5 separate regions of the Homo sapiens genome follow, and regions 1, 3, 4 and 5 are each linked to region 2. Evidence: promoter capture Hi-C in 16 types of primary human blood cells and fetal thymus (Javierre and others, 2016). All regions are on one chromosome and are shown on one strand. The core of a region is centred on a gene start or on the middle of the fragment in contact, and the rest is flanking DNA. Distances in the headings are between cores, read along the strand shown.

The links. The method cuts DNA at HindIII sites, captures the fragments that hold promoters and counts their contacts. A CHiCAGO score of 5 or more calls a contact.
Region 1: a fragment that was not itself captured here is called in contact with the fragment with the promoter of SORL1 in region 2 in 2 of 17 cell types (non-activated CD4 T cells and activated CD4 T cells); the score reaches 5.5 in non-activated CD4 T cells.
Region 3: a fragment that was not itself captured here is called in contact with the fragment with the promoter of SORL1 in region 2 in 1 of 17 cell types (non-activated CD4 T cells); the score reaches 5.2 in non-activated CD4 T cells.
Region 4: a fragment that was not itself captured here is called in contact with the fragment with the promoter of SORL1 in region 2 in 2 of 17 cell types (activated CD4 T cells and non-activated CD4 T cells); the score reaches 7.7 in activated CD4 T cells.
Region 5: a contact is called between a fragment that was not itself captured here and the fragment with the promoter of SORL1 in region 2, in 2 of 17 cell types (non-activated CD4 T cells and activated CD4 T cells). The highest score is 7.5, in non-activated CD4 T cells.

The regions. Positions count from the first base shown.
Region 1 is chr11:123,102,132-123,104,831 of GRCh38, forward strand. All of the region lies in intron 1 of CLMP (CXADR like cell adhesion molecule), which reads right to left. Among named protein-coding and RNA genes, the nearest start is that of HSPA8, 41 kb to the left of the region's middle. The HindIII fragment of the contact is 532 bases long and covers 1,070-1,601 here.
Region 2 is chr11:121,450,929-121,453,628 of GRCh38, forward strand. SORL1 (sortilin related receptor 1) reads left to right here and starts at 1,386. Exons shown (of 48, transcript NM_003105.6): 1 at 1,386-1,688. The coding sequence starts at 1,404. SORL1-AS1 (SORL1 antisense RNA 1) reads right to left here and starts at 2,039. Exons shown (of 3, transcript NR_183636.1): 1 at 1,747-2,039. RefSeq lists enhancers at 343-402, 1,793-1,982, 1,993-2,042, 2,083-2,152, 2,173-2,222 and silencers at 1,273-1,322, 1,453-1,502. The HindIII fragment of the contact is 8,160 bases long and covers 1-2,142 here.
Region 3 is chr11:122,719,109-122,721,808 of GRCh38, forward strand. All of the region lies in intron 1 of UBASH3B (ubiquitin associated and SH3 domain containing B), which reads left to right. Among named protein-coding and RNA genes, the nearest start is that of UBASH3B, 65 kb to the left of the region's middle. The HindIII fragment of the contact is 2,244 bases long and covers 135-2,378 here.
Region 4 is chr11:122,736,793-122,739,492 of GRCh38, forward strand. The region is part of intron 1 of UBASH3B (ubiquitin associated and SH3 domain containing B); the gene reads left to right. Among named protein-coding and RNA genes, the nearest start is that of UBASH3B, 82 kb to the left of the region's middle. The HindIII fragment of the contact is 3,376 bases long and covers 1-2,700 here.
Region 5 is chr11:123,085,705-123,088,404 of GRCh38, forward strand. All of the region lies in intron 2 of CLMP (CXADR like cell adhesion molecule), which reads right to left. Among named protein-coding and RNA genes, the nearest start is that of HSPA8, 25 kb to the left of the region's middle. The HindIII fragment of the contact is 2,767 bases long and covers 1-2,678 here.

The DNA.
Region 1 (2,700 bases), core at 86-2,585, 1.7 Mb after region 2:
CATGATTGCACCACTGCACTCCAGCATGGGTGACAGAGTAAGACCCTGTCTCTAAAAAAAAAAAATAAGATATGCAACTTCCCTAGTTATTCCTGCAAATAACACTATTGTAGAACCTAAGATTGGCCCTTTGAGCTATCTTTCCAGGTTTTTTTTTTTTTTTTTTTTGAGATGGAGTGTCTCTCTGTCGCCAGGCTGGAGTGCAGTGGCACAATCTTGGCTCAGTGCAACCTCCGACTCCCCGGTTCAAGTGATTCTCCTGCCTCAGCCTCCTGAGTAGCTGGGACTACAGGCATGTGCCACCACACCCAGCTAATTTTTGTATTTTTAGTAGAGACAGGGTTTCACCACGTTGGCCAAGATGGTCTCAATCTCCTGACCTCGTGATCCGCCCACCTCGGCCTCCCAAAGTGATGGGATTACAGGTGACAGCCACCGTGCCCAGCCAGGTTTTTTTTTTTTTTGAGATAGTCTTGCTCTGTCACCCAGGCTGGAGTGCAGTGGCTCGATCTCCTCTCACTGCAACCTCCGCCTCCCAGGTTCCAGTGATTCTCCTGCCTCAGCCTCCCGAGTAGCTTTTTTTTTTTTTTTTTTTTTGTATTTTTAGTAGAGACAGGATTTCACCATGTTGGTCAGGCTGGTCTCGAACTCTTGGCCTCAAGTGATCCACCCGCCTCAGCCTCCCAAAGTGCTGGAATTACAGGTGTGAGCTACCACGCCCAGCCTCCTCCTGCCCAATTTTATGTGGCTTCCAGGATGTCTGGTTCTCCCATTATCCTGTAAGCTCTTTGACATCAAGTACCATTCATTGCTGCCTTCTCATAGTACTCAGCCCAGGGTCTCACACTGCAGGTGTTCAATTAATATTTGTTGAATTTATCTGAGTGTAACCCACACGCTCATTTTTACCAATGAGCAAACTAAGACCCAGGGGTAAAAGAGACAGCCCAAGGTCCTACAACTCATTTAGCGGCAGAAATAACCCATATAATAACCCATCCTCCCAGAATTACTATAAAGCAGCTTTAGAATAGCTGGGAAATTCACTGGTTTGCACTGTACTAAGCTAAGCTTTGTTAAGAAGGAGCTTTGTAAGAAGGAGCTCTGGCTTAACCCTGATCACTTTCCACCGGACACAAAAATGCTCAAATGAAACCAGTGCCCTACATTCCAGGCAGAGCTAGAGAACCCAGCACCAATTTAGTGCATACAATAGATACTTAAACATTCAATAACAAATGCCAAGAGCCAGCTATGAAAGTTGCCAATTTAAGCCACTAGAGGGAATCAAAGGCTCAGATTCGTCTGATGTCCCCAAAAAACTGGAACATTGTGGCGGGTGGTGTGCTTTGACAGTCAGCCAAGTCCTATTTATACCATATCCAGAATTAAATACAGCAGTGCAGGGAGGAGCCCCTCTGTGAATACAAATGGCTTCATCAAGGCAGGGAGCCATGAGATCAGGGCGCATACACTTCTAGTCTTCCTTGAACTTCAGTTCGTTAGACTCCAGGAGGCCACTGAGATTTCTACAGATTTCTAAGGTCCTTCTCCTTCTGTCCCTTTTTTTTTCTTTCTTTCTTTCTTTTTTTTTACATTAAAGCTTTTACATTTTTTTACATTGCTCAAAGGGTCTTCTGTACTTTTTTTTCTTTTCTTTTTTAAACCCACCTAAGCAGAGAGGGGCCTGGGTTCTGTCTCTTTTTTTTTTTTTTTGAGACAGAGTGTCACTCTGTTGCCCAGGCTAGAGTGCAGTCGCGCAATCTCGGCTCACTGCAACCTCTGCCTCCCAGGTTAAAGTGATTGTTGTGCCTCAGCCTCCTGAGTAGCGGGGATTACAGGCATGCACCACCATGCCTGGCTAATTTTTGTATTTTTAGTAGAGACGGGATTTCACTGCGTTGGCCAAGCTGGTTTCAAACTCCTGACCTCAGGTGATCAGCCCGCCTCGGCCTCCCAAAGTGCTGGGATTACAGGCCTGAGCCACCATGCCTGGCTTTTTTTTTTTTTTTTTTTTTTTTTAATCCAGATTCTCCCTCTGTAGCCCAGGCTGGAGTGCAGTGCTGTGATCTCGGGTTCATGAGTAACTGGGATTACAGGGTTGCACCACCCACCGAGCTATTTTTTTTAGTAGAGATGGGGTTTCTCCATGTTGACCAGGCTGGTCTCAAACTCCTGGCCTCAAGTGATCTGCCCGCCTCAGCCTCCCAAAGTCTAGGATTACAGGCATGAGCCACCGCGCCCGGTCCTGGGTTCTATTTTTTTTTTCCCCAGACGGAGTCTCGCCCTGTTGCTCAGGCTGGAATGCAATGGCGTCATCTCAGCTCGCTGTAACCTCCGCCTCCCAGGTTCAAACGATTCTCCTGCCTCAGCCTTTCAAGTAGCTGGGATTACAGGCAGGCGCCACCATGCTCAGCTAATTTTTTGTATCTTTAGTAGAGACGGGGTTTCACCATGTTGGCCAGGCTCGTCTCGAATTCCTGACCCCTTATGATCCACCCGCCTCAGCCTCCCAAAGTGCTGGGATTACAGGTGTGAGCCACCGCGTCCGGCCTCTGTCTTTAACTCCAAGGCTTAGCAGTGCTCATGGGGGCTGCTGAGCTTGTCTGCCATCTGATGGGTGAGAGGAAAGGGGCAGTCTGACCATCCTGTGGCTAGCCTTGGATTGCGTGGGCACTGGAAGATTCATCTTTGTTAGGA
Region 2 (2,700 bases), core at 136-2,635:
GGCAGGTTGTCAGTGGTAGTCCTAGGTAGAGGAGGGGGCTTTGCTAAGCTACCTGAAAAGTACTAGAGTGGGCCGGGGTAGGAATCGGGCTACCGTGGCTTGTCGGAGATGAGGAATGTTTTTAGAAAATTGAACTGACCATCCCTTCCTTCCCCTGAACAGCAGCTTGTATGCAACTATAAAGGTAGTCTCCCTTTCAGCCCTGCTTGCTGTGTCTTTATTCTTATCAAAAACCAGGATCTGAGTTCAGAGGGCAGTGAAACATAAAATGAAATAGGAAAGGTTGCAGTAGTACATAGACTTTGGCTGCTCCCACTAACCTGCAAAAAAAATATTTTCCTTGGGCGTACCTTAGCAGTTCCATGGCAGAAGTTTTATCTCCTGTGGTTCAGAGAGTTTGGCTCGTCAAGCTGAATGTAGGGTTAAAGTGTGTCCTCCCTCCTCTGTGGGTGTTTGCCTAGCTCCTGGCTGTGGGTTGAAGGGACTGGTAAATATGTCTATTTTACTGCTGAGGCAGGGTGGCTCAGTGCTTGGTCACCTTGGAGGGATCATAAGCAAGCCGCCGCTGGGGCCCTGTGCCACGCACAGGTATTCATGCGTGCGTGCAAGCACACCCTGTATAGCTGTGTAATAATTGTCCAGGTGTGGTGCATTCTTTGTCAGATGTACCCTTGTTTTTACTGCCTCTGTGCAGGATGTTTATTTGCTGTGCTTCAGGCTGGGGCACGTAGCTTGATCAAGGGTAGTTTTTGCTGTGGCCCCTGCAAATACGTTGTGGTGCCCAGAGTAGATGAAAAACTGTGAGTTTCCCAATAGAGCGGGTTCATCTGGACTCTTGTTGGTTGCGTTCTAGGAGCTAATTCTGTGGCTCTGGACTCTTCCCTGGAGGTGGGGATGAGGCCGGGGCCGGGGGGAGGTGGTCTTGTGGCGCTACTGCGGGCTGTGCACTCAGGAAAGTGGCCACGGTTTAGGACGACCTCGACACGACCCTGTATAGGACGCAACTAACTCCAGAGAAAACGAGCGAGCCCCATGCAACTCTTCATTCCTGCAGGGAGAACAAGGAGGTGTGCCCGCCAGGGAAGGGACGCACCCCCACCGGCGCTCGCTGCCTTAACTTCCCCATCCCCGCGCCAGGGAGGGGCCGGAGTCGCCGCCGAGGCCGCCGAGCGCAGAAAGTGCGCGAAAGGGACGCGCTGCGAGCCTCACACGTGACGGCGCCGCGCCGAACCGAGCGGGACCTGGCGGCAGCGGCGGCGGGCGCAGCGGGGCGGCCCGGAGCGGCGCGGGCGGCCTGGAGCCCCGGGAGCGGCGCGCGCGGTCCCGGCCCAGCGGCTCTCCTGGCCTCGCGCTGCACATTCTCTCCTGGCGGCGGCGCCACCTGCAGTAGCGTTCGCCCGAACATGGCGACACGGAGCAGCAGGAGGGAGTCGCGACTCCCGTTCCTATTCACCCTGGTCGCACTGCTGCCGCCCGGAGCTCTCTGCGAAGTCTGGACGCAGAGGCTGCACGGCGGCAGCGCGCCCTTGCCCCAGGACCGGGGCTTCCTCGTGGTGCAGGGCGACCCGCGCGAGCTGCGGCTGTGGGCGCGCGGGGATGCCAGGGGGGCGAGCCGCGCGGACGAGAAGCCGCTCCGGAGGAAACGGAGCGCTGCCCTGCAGCCCGAGCCCATCAAGGTGTACGGACAGGTGAGCAGTTTTGCAACCCGCCTCCCTCCAGTTTTTTCCTCTCCCTGCACTTCCTCACCCCCGCATCCATCCGTTGCAGTCGCCTCCTAGGTGCAGGCACCACTGGGGACTTCCCGGCTTGCATTTGTTTTTTTCCTTCACGAGTACAACCGTCAGCACTTGAATCGCATTGATCTTTCCTTCTTCCTGTCGATTTAGTAAACGTATTCCAGGTAACTCGCCGGGTGCAGTGCGTATTACCCCAGGGTGTGTGCAGAGAGATGTAGTTTCCGGCAGGTATAGGAGGGGTGCAGCTTCATTTTACATCTGGATAAAAAACGGGCTTTCTTTAGTGTATCATCAGTTGGCAGTGGAGGCGAGCACCCTGCAGTTGCGGTACACTTACACAGAACAGCACGAGGTGGGGGTTTCCACACTTAGCATTATTAGCACAATAAAAGTGGGCAAACCTGAAAGCTTGTCGACTATCTCTGTACAGTCAGACAAGAGGTGTGTGTATGTGTGTGCGTGTGTAAAGGCTGAATTTTTAATTTTTAATTTTTGGCGAGCGTGTGAGATGCTCTCCATTCCTTCTTCCCCACCCTTCAAGATGCTGACTCTCCCACCCCCGTCAAGATAACTTTATTTTGGAGAGGAATACCCCTCATGGCACTTGGAGATTTGAAAGGACTGCAGGAAATTTGGTGGGCATTATTATTCTATAAGTGATTTATTTCTACCCAGGCAATAGGTTTATTAGATCATAAGTAACGTGAATTTCACTTTTATGGTCAGACTTACTGCGAGGAATTGCAGATGGAGTTTGTAGGTTAGGATCAGCACTGGCAAAATTAATTTGACCGTGTTATTGCCTCATGAGACTCCCAGTCCTGCAGTTAAGATTGACATCAGCAAAAGTATAAGGTCGGTGGGGGAGAAAAAGTAGGACCAGAGGAGGGGGTAAATACACTTGTTTTCTAGAGTCAAATTGTTCCTTTTGAAGTAGAAATTATTAATAAAAGATTACCCTGAG
Region 3 (2,700 bases), core at 7-2,506, 1.3 Mb after region 2:
CGTTAGATTGGTGATGGGTATTCTTACACTGCCAATTTACAGATGGATTAACTAACACGCTGAGGTTAAAAGTAACTTGTCTAAGACCACGCGGCTAATAATTGGGAGTGCCCGGAAGTCAATTCCCTTCTCTAAGCTTCAATTTCCTCATCAGATGATTGGTTTAGATACCCATGTCCACCAGTGCTCAAAATTTTACATCTGTGCTAAATTTAACCAGGAAATTTGGGAGTTATGTTAGTGATGTTTGCAATGGAAAAGAAATGGTTTAGGAAACTTAACATGGCTTGAAACTCTTTAAAAGTCTTTCTTACCATTTTTCTTGTCCCTTTCTTTCATTACTCTCTCCTTGTCTTTTCCCCTTCGTCCTCCTTAAAATAAGTCTCTGAGAGGGAAAAACCTGTGGTTCACATCATGAGTTCATCAGAACCAGGCATCTATGTATCCCATCACATAGGTCAAGGAGCCTCCCAGCAAAGGTAGTAATAATCAGCCTTAGTAGCTGGAAAGATCATTTCATCTGTTTCTCTTCTTGCAAAACCTAAAGTGTTAAATCAGATTCTTGAACAGTAACACTTCCCAAACAAGTTGTCTCTACTGGCTGTTTCCACTTCCTATCCTCCTCTTTTCTCTTAAACTTATTTCAATCAGGCTTCTGTCACACTGCCCCCCAAAGCTGCTGTCATCAAGGTCACTAATGGCCACAGTAGTGCCATATATTGTGAGCAATTCCATCCTCCATCAGCAGCATTGGATGCAGGCGATCAGTCCTCTCTCGATGCTTCCTTAAAGACCCTTGGCTTCTAGGAGTTTCTTCTCTCTTAGTCCTCCTACTGCAGTGCCTGCTTCTGCTCCAACTCCTTGGCTGGCTTCCTCATCTCCTCACCTGTAAATATTGGAGAGCCCTCAGCTGAAAACCATGGACCCCTTCTCTCCTTTGTCTAAACTCACCCCCATAGTAGTCTCCAAACTCCTGGCTTTATGTACTATCCATATGCTGACAACTCCTGCACTTACATCCCCCACCCAGTCCTCTCTCCCATTTTCCAGACTCCGTACTCAGCATCTCCTATGGATGTCAAATAGGCATCTCAAACATGGGTCCTCCCACAGTCTTGTCATCTCCAAGCAGGATAACTCTTTCTTCCAGATGTTCATTCTAATGCCTTGGAGTCACCCTTAGCGCCTCACTTTTTCCATCCAGTCCATCAGTGAATCTGTCAGCTTCGCCGCTTCCACAGATCCAAATCCCTGGCATTCTCTCTTGCTTGTATTATTGCAATTGCCTCCAAACTGGTCTCCCTGTTTTGGCTTTTGCTTTCTTGTAGTCTCTTCTCATCAGAATAGTTGGAGATCCTTTCAAAGTGTAAGGCAGATGGAATCACTCCACTGCTCAAAATGCCCCAACGTTCTCTGTGTTACAAAGTTAAATCTAAAGCCTTCCTGTCTCTAGGGTGTTCCCTTGCTACCTCTCTGAATCTGTTTCCTAGCATGTACCTCCTTGCCCATTCAGCTGAAGCCACATGGTCTATTCTTTGTTCCTTGAATACACTACACACGCCATTGCCTGGGGCCTTTGTGCTTGCTCTTCCAGGAAGGCTCTTCACACAGCTATCCACAGAGCTCTCCCTCCCTGACTCATTCATTACCTTTATCTAATCTTTCCATGCAAAATAGGAATCCCTTCCCACCCTTCCCTGCCTTATTTTTTCCAAAACGCTTACTATAACTGTCCTCTCCCCTAGAATATAAACTGCATGAGGTCAAAAATCTTTGTATTTTTTTTTTCTCTGCTATATCCCCAAGGCTAGAAAAATGTCTGACACATAGTAGATGTTAAAAGAATGAATGACTCGGCCAGGCGCGGTGGCTCACGCCTGTAATCCCAGCACTTTGGGAGGCCGAGGTGGGCAGATCACAAGGTCAGGAGATGGAGACCATCCCGGCTCACACGGTGAAACCCCGTCTCTACCAAAAATACAAAAAATTAGCCAGGCGTGGTGGCGTGTGCCTGTAGTCCCAGCTACTCTGGAGGCTGAGTCAGGAGAATCGCTTGAACCCGGTGGTGGAGGTTTGCAGTGAGCCAAGATCGCGGCACTGCACTCCAGTCTGGGCAACAGAGCAAGACTGTGTCTCAAAAAAAAAAAAAAAAAAAAAAAAGAATGAATGACTCTAGGTCAGTTTCTACAACAGATGCTGACTGACCAGCCAAGCTCTTTATGGAATTCTGTTCACTTAGAGTAAGCAAATCTTCCACAGCACTACGGGGGGGTGGGAGTGGGAATGTGGTGGCTGGGAGGACCACTAAATCTTTTTTGCTATAAATTGCTTTCCCGTATGATGATATTTACCACACCAGGATTTCAGCTCTAGCTCAAAGCTTGCTTAAGGATATTTGTCAGAGTGAGCTTGCCTGAGAGTTCAGTAATTCTCAAGATGGTTTCCCTGAAAGAATCCTTGTTCAAACACCATCCCTTTAAAAGTCCTTAATCCAGACTGCCTGTTCTGCAGACATTCTCAGATGCATTATTTAAAGTTATTTCCAGTGGTGCGTGGGTGGGAGGTGGGAGCTACATTTGTTACTTAGTGGTTTCCAAAAGCCTTCCAGGATCTTTCCTTTTTACCCTAGTGAGGTTGCTCACTTTTAACCCTTCTTTTCCAGGTCTCCTAACATAACTTCTTAGGCTTAGTAGCTCATTG
Region 4 (2,700 bases), core at 88-2,587, 1.3 Mb after region 2:
CAATCTCAGCTACTTGGGAGGCTGAGGAGAGAGGATCGCTTGAGCCCAGGAGTTTCAGTCCAGCTTGGGCAACATAGTGAGACCCTCTCTCAAAATGAAATGAAATGGAATGAAATGAAGAAATGAAAGGAAATAAAGGATCAAGGAAAGCAACATAGAAGATTTAAGCTAAGATTGAGAGGTGGGCAGAGATATTACTGTAGGGAAGGGAAAGAATGTTCCTGAAGAAAGAATGCATGCCCACTGCTCAGCTGTGAGAAAATGTGGCACGTTCAAGGAACTGAAAGAAATCTAATGTTGCCGGAAGAGGGTAGCCTAAAGTAAACCAGGGAAGGGCCAGAAAATAGAGCATACAGGCAAATTAGCCATGTTAAGGTTCTGGAACTTTACCCTAGAGGAAATAGGGAGCTACTGGGTTGTTTTAAGAAGAAGAGTGTATGATTATCATTGTATATTTGGAGAATAAATTGGAAAGGGCAAAACCGGAAGCAGGAGATTTGTTAAAGCTGCCGGAGTTGTCAAAGCGAGGGGTGATGGGGCTTAACACAGAGAGAAAACAAGGGATAAAAAAGAACCAGTGTCCAAGAAATTTAGGAGGCACACATGGACAGGACCTAATGATGAATTAGATAGGAGAGGTGAGAGAAAGAGAGAAGTCAAGGATGGATCTTAGGTGGATCTTAGCCTGTTGATCTCAGTGCTAAGTGTAGTACAGGCCGTGAGGTAGATGCTCAGTAAGAATGAGGAGCGTCGCTAAAGCCCCACCTTCTACATAAACTCCTGAATTCTCCCAGCATTCTCTCTGTGTTCCCCTAGCCCTTTTTTTTTTCATTCTGCATGAATGAAACTTGGGAAATTGCATGGATGCTCTGCCCTGAGCCAAGAGACTCTGGAGAGAAGCAAAATTGGCGGGGAAAAAGGTGAGTTCACTTTTTGAACACATGAGGTTTAGTGCAAGCAAGATATTCAAGTGGAGATTTCTAGTAAGGAATAGGTCAGGACGCCAGAGGGTTGAGCAGGAGAAACTGGAGGGACCTGGAGACTAAGGGCATCCTTAGCATGTAGAAGCTGGAGGTATGGCCCAGGGAAGAGCTGGGATTACCCGGAGAGAATGAGTAGAATGTATGGAGAAAGACTGGACAGATTCCTGAGGAATACTAGCAATTAAAGTGCCTGTAGAGAAGTCAGAGTTTACAAAGGAAACTGAGAATAAGCCACTAGAGAAAAGGGCAAAAGACAAACCAAAGGGGCATAATCAGGAAAGTAAAAGTAGAGAACAAAGGGAGGGCTCCTAATGGGAAATGCCGTTGAGAGGTCAAGAGACAAAAATCCCATTGAATAGAGTGTGGTGACTCAGATTCTCACTGTTACTTACTAAGTGACCTTAGACCAGTTATTTACACTGAGCCTCATCCATAAGTTGGAACGATTGCATTGTATTTAGATTGGTGTCTTAATACATGTGCAGTAAATCTTAGCCATTATTATTCAATGGCATGAATAACTATTAGGGACTTTGTTAGTGGGGAAGTGCCAAATTAGAGTGACTTTTAGCTGAAGGGGAAAGTGCAATTGAGCACTTGAGAGAGGCTGTTTAAATGCAAAGAAGCAGTTCCAGGGAGGAAGAGATAGAAGACAGAGGAGAAGACAGGCTTTCAGTGGGAATAAAGTAAAGCAACACAGAAGGACAGGCATGGCAAGAAGCCTGAGCCATGGGGTTACACAGCATGACAACAGATGTGGTCAAGTGCAATGGTCAGGAAGAGGCAGGAAGAGCTACGGTGGGAGTTGAGCCTGTAAAGAATGTTACATTCATCCAGGCACAGTGGCTCACGCCTGTAATCCTAGCACTTTGTGAGGCTGAGGTGGGCAGATCACCTGAAGTCAGGAGTTCGAGACCAGCCTGACCAACATGGAGAAACCCCGTCTCTACAAAAATACAAAATTAGCTGGGCGTGGTGGTGCATGCCTGTAATCACAGCTACTTGGGAGGCTGAGGCAGAAGAATTGCTTGAACTCAGGAGGAGGAGGTTGTGGTGAGCCGAGATCACACCATTGCACCCCAGCCTGGGCAACAAGAGTGAAACTCTGTCTCAAAAAAAAAAAAAAAAAGTTACGTTTATGAATTTGAATATTTGAATTTTGCTTTGTGTGGATATAAGGGAGCCATGGACAGTTGTACAGGAGTGGAAGGGTTTGTTTTGTTCTGCTTTGTTTTGTTTTTGAGACAAGGTCCCACTCTGTTGCTCAGGCTGGAGTGTGGTGGCACGATCACGGCTTACTGCAGCCTCAAATTACAGGGCTCAGGGATCCTCCTGCCTCAGCCTCCTGAGTAGCTGAGACTACAGCATGTGCCACCACACCCGGGTAATTTGTAAATTTTTTGTAGAGACAGGGTCTCACTACGATGCCCAGACTGAGGAGTGGAAAGTTTAACTCAACCTGTTTTAGAAAAATTATTCTAACAATAGAGAGAAGTATGGATTATAGAGGAGGAAGATTTAGAAAAGAGCTGTCCACAGTGTGTGGCTGGGGGAGGAATTTTAATAGAGAGCAAAAAAATCACTTGTAAGCATTTAACCTTGGCTAGGTCACTTAACCTCATCAAGACTCAATTTCTCCACTAATAAAATGGGAATAATAAGATTTCTCTCTGAGGTTCTTTTGGGCATTGCATTTTCTATCAAGTACCTACTATAG
Region 5 (2,700 bases), core at 45-2,544, 1.6 Mb after region 2:
TGAGATAAATGCATATCTGATTGCTTCCTTTGCCCTATTTCACTAAGCCGAACTAATTTTTTATGTTTTTTTTTTTTTGTTTTTTTTTTGAGATAGAGTCTCACTCTTGTCGCCCGGTCTGGAGTACAATGGTGCGATCCTGGCTCACTGCAACCTCTGTCTCCTGGGTTCAAGCAATTCTTCTGCCTCAGTCTCCTGAGTAGCTGGGATTACAGATGCATGCCACCATGACTCGCTCATTTTTGTATTTTTAGTAGAGCTGGGGTTTCTCCATGTTGGCCAGGCTGGTCTTGAACTCCTGACCTCAGATGATCTGCCTGCCTCAGCCTCCCAAAGTGCTGGGATTACAGGTGTGAGCCACTGCGCCTGGCCCTAATTTTTTATTTTAGTAGAGATGGGGTTTCACCATTCTGGCCAGGCTGGTCTCAAAGTCCTGACCTCAGGTGATCCACCCTCCTCGGCTTCCCAAAGTGCTGGGATTACAGGTGTGAGCCACTGCGCCTGGCAAATCTCTTCTTTGGTTCAAGTGATTTATAATCAAGTGAGATTAACAAGGAAAGACTATTAAACAGAGAAAAAGAAATGATTTATTTGAAATAGTATCAAGGAGAGTGTCCCAGACAAGTTGGTGGCATTTGAGCTAGGCTTTGAGAGGCAAGGAGAAAAGGCCTGGAGGGAGCATTCCAGCTACACAGAAGGGCACTAAAAAAGGCATGCAAGCATATGGGCATCTCCCAGGCACATTTCAGCTGCAGCTGTTCCAAATTGTTTCACTCAAGCCCTCAACCCTGCCTTTGATCACGTGTTGCTCCACAGCTCTTCAGAGCCTTTCCTGAGAAGGTTCTCTCAATCAGATAAAACCTATGAACTCTGACCCAGAAAAAACTCACATATTATTTTGCAGATAATTCCATGGGGTTCCTAGCACTCAAGGGAAAGCCCTCTGCTTTAGGCACAGATGGGGAAGAGCTAGGATCACAGCCCTTCTCCTGGATGTGGTACTTGTTTGTTCTAAATATTTGTGGGGGCCAGATGCGTGGTGGTTCACGCCTGTAATCCAAGCACTTTGGGAGACCAAGGCTGGTGGTTTGCTTGAGCCCAGGAGGTTGAGGCTATAGTGAGCCAAGACTGCGCCACTGTACTCCAGCCTGGGTGACAGAGTGAGACCCTGTCTCAACAAATAAAATTTAAAAAAAGAAAAAAATGTAACTGGGTGCGGTGGCTCACAACTGTAATCCCAGCATTTTGGGACGCCAAGGCAAGCAGATCACTTGAAGTCAGGAGTTTGAGACCAGCCTGGCCAACATGGTGAAACCCTGTCTCTACTAAAAAATACAAAAATTAGACAGGTGGCCTGACGTGGTGGCTCACGCCTATAATCCCAGTCCTTTGGGAGGCCGAGGTGGGCAGATCACCTGAGGTTGGGAGTTCAAGACCAGCCTGACCAACATGGTGAAACCCCGTCTCTACTAAAAATACAAAATTAGCCGGGCGTGATGGCGCATGCCTATAATCCCAGCTACTCGGGAGGCTGAGGCAGGAGAATTGCTTGAACCCGGGAGGCGGAGGTTGCAATGAGCCAAGATCACGGCATTGCACTGCAGTCTGAGCAACAAGAGCGAAACTCCGTCTCAAAAAAAAAAAGAAAGAAAGAAAAAACTAGGTGTGGTGGTGTGCGCCTGTAAACCCAGCTACTCAGGAGGCTGAGGCAGCAGAATCACTTGAACCTGGGAGGCAGAGATTGCAGTGAGTGGAGATTATGCCACTGCACTCCAGCCTGGGCAACATAACAAGATTCTGTCTCAAAAAAATAAAATGAAATAAATAAATATTTGCGGCTCGGTGCAGTGGCTCATGCCTGTAATCCCAGTACTTTGGGATGCCGAGGCGGGTGGATCACGAGGTCAAGAGATCGAGACCATCCTGGCCAATATGGTGAAACCCTGTCTCTACTAAAAATACAAAAATTAGCTGGGTGTGGTGGCATATGCCTGTAGTCCCAGCTACTAAAGAGGCTGAGGCAGAAGAATCGCTGGAACCCAGGAGGCAGAGGTTCCAGTGAGCCAAGATCATGCCACTGCACTCCAGCCTAGGGACAGAGTGAGACTCTGCCTCAAAACAAGACAAAACAAAACAGAAAAATGTTTGTAGGGTGTTGTTGGCCCCACATCCTGTTGTACTCTGTAGGGTAGGTTTCGTTTTGTTTCTTTTTTTTTTTTCTTTGAGACGGAGTTTCACTCTTTTTGCCCAGGCTGGGGTGCAATGGCATGATCTTGGCTCACCACAACCTCCGCCTCCCGGGTTCAAGTGATTCTCCTGCCTCAGCCTCCTGAGTAGCTGGGATTACAGGCATGTGCCACCAGGCCCAGCTAATTTTGTATTTTTAGAAGAGATGGGGTTTCTCCACGTTGGTCAGGCTGGTCTCGAACTCCTGACTTCAGGTGATCTGCCCGCCTCGGCCTCCCAAAGTGCTGGGATTACAGGTGTGAGCCACCATGCCCAGCTGGAAGGGTAGGTTTCTTGGCAGGTGATAGAGCTGACTTAGTAATGCAAAATTGCTGGGATAGTTGGAAAAGAAGGAAATGCGTTCACAACAGGAAAAAACTGGAAGCTGTAGAGTTTGTCTCCATTCAAAGACTGAAAGTAAGGGGGCCTTACACCTGGAGATAAGGCAGGTAAGCTTGGAACACTTACTAGGTG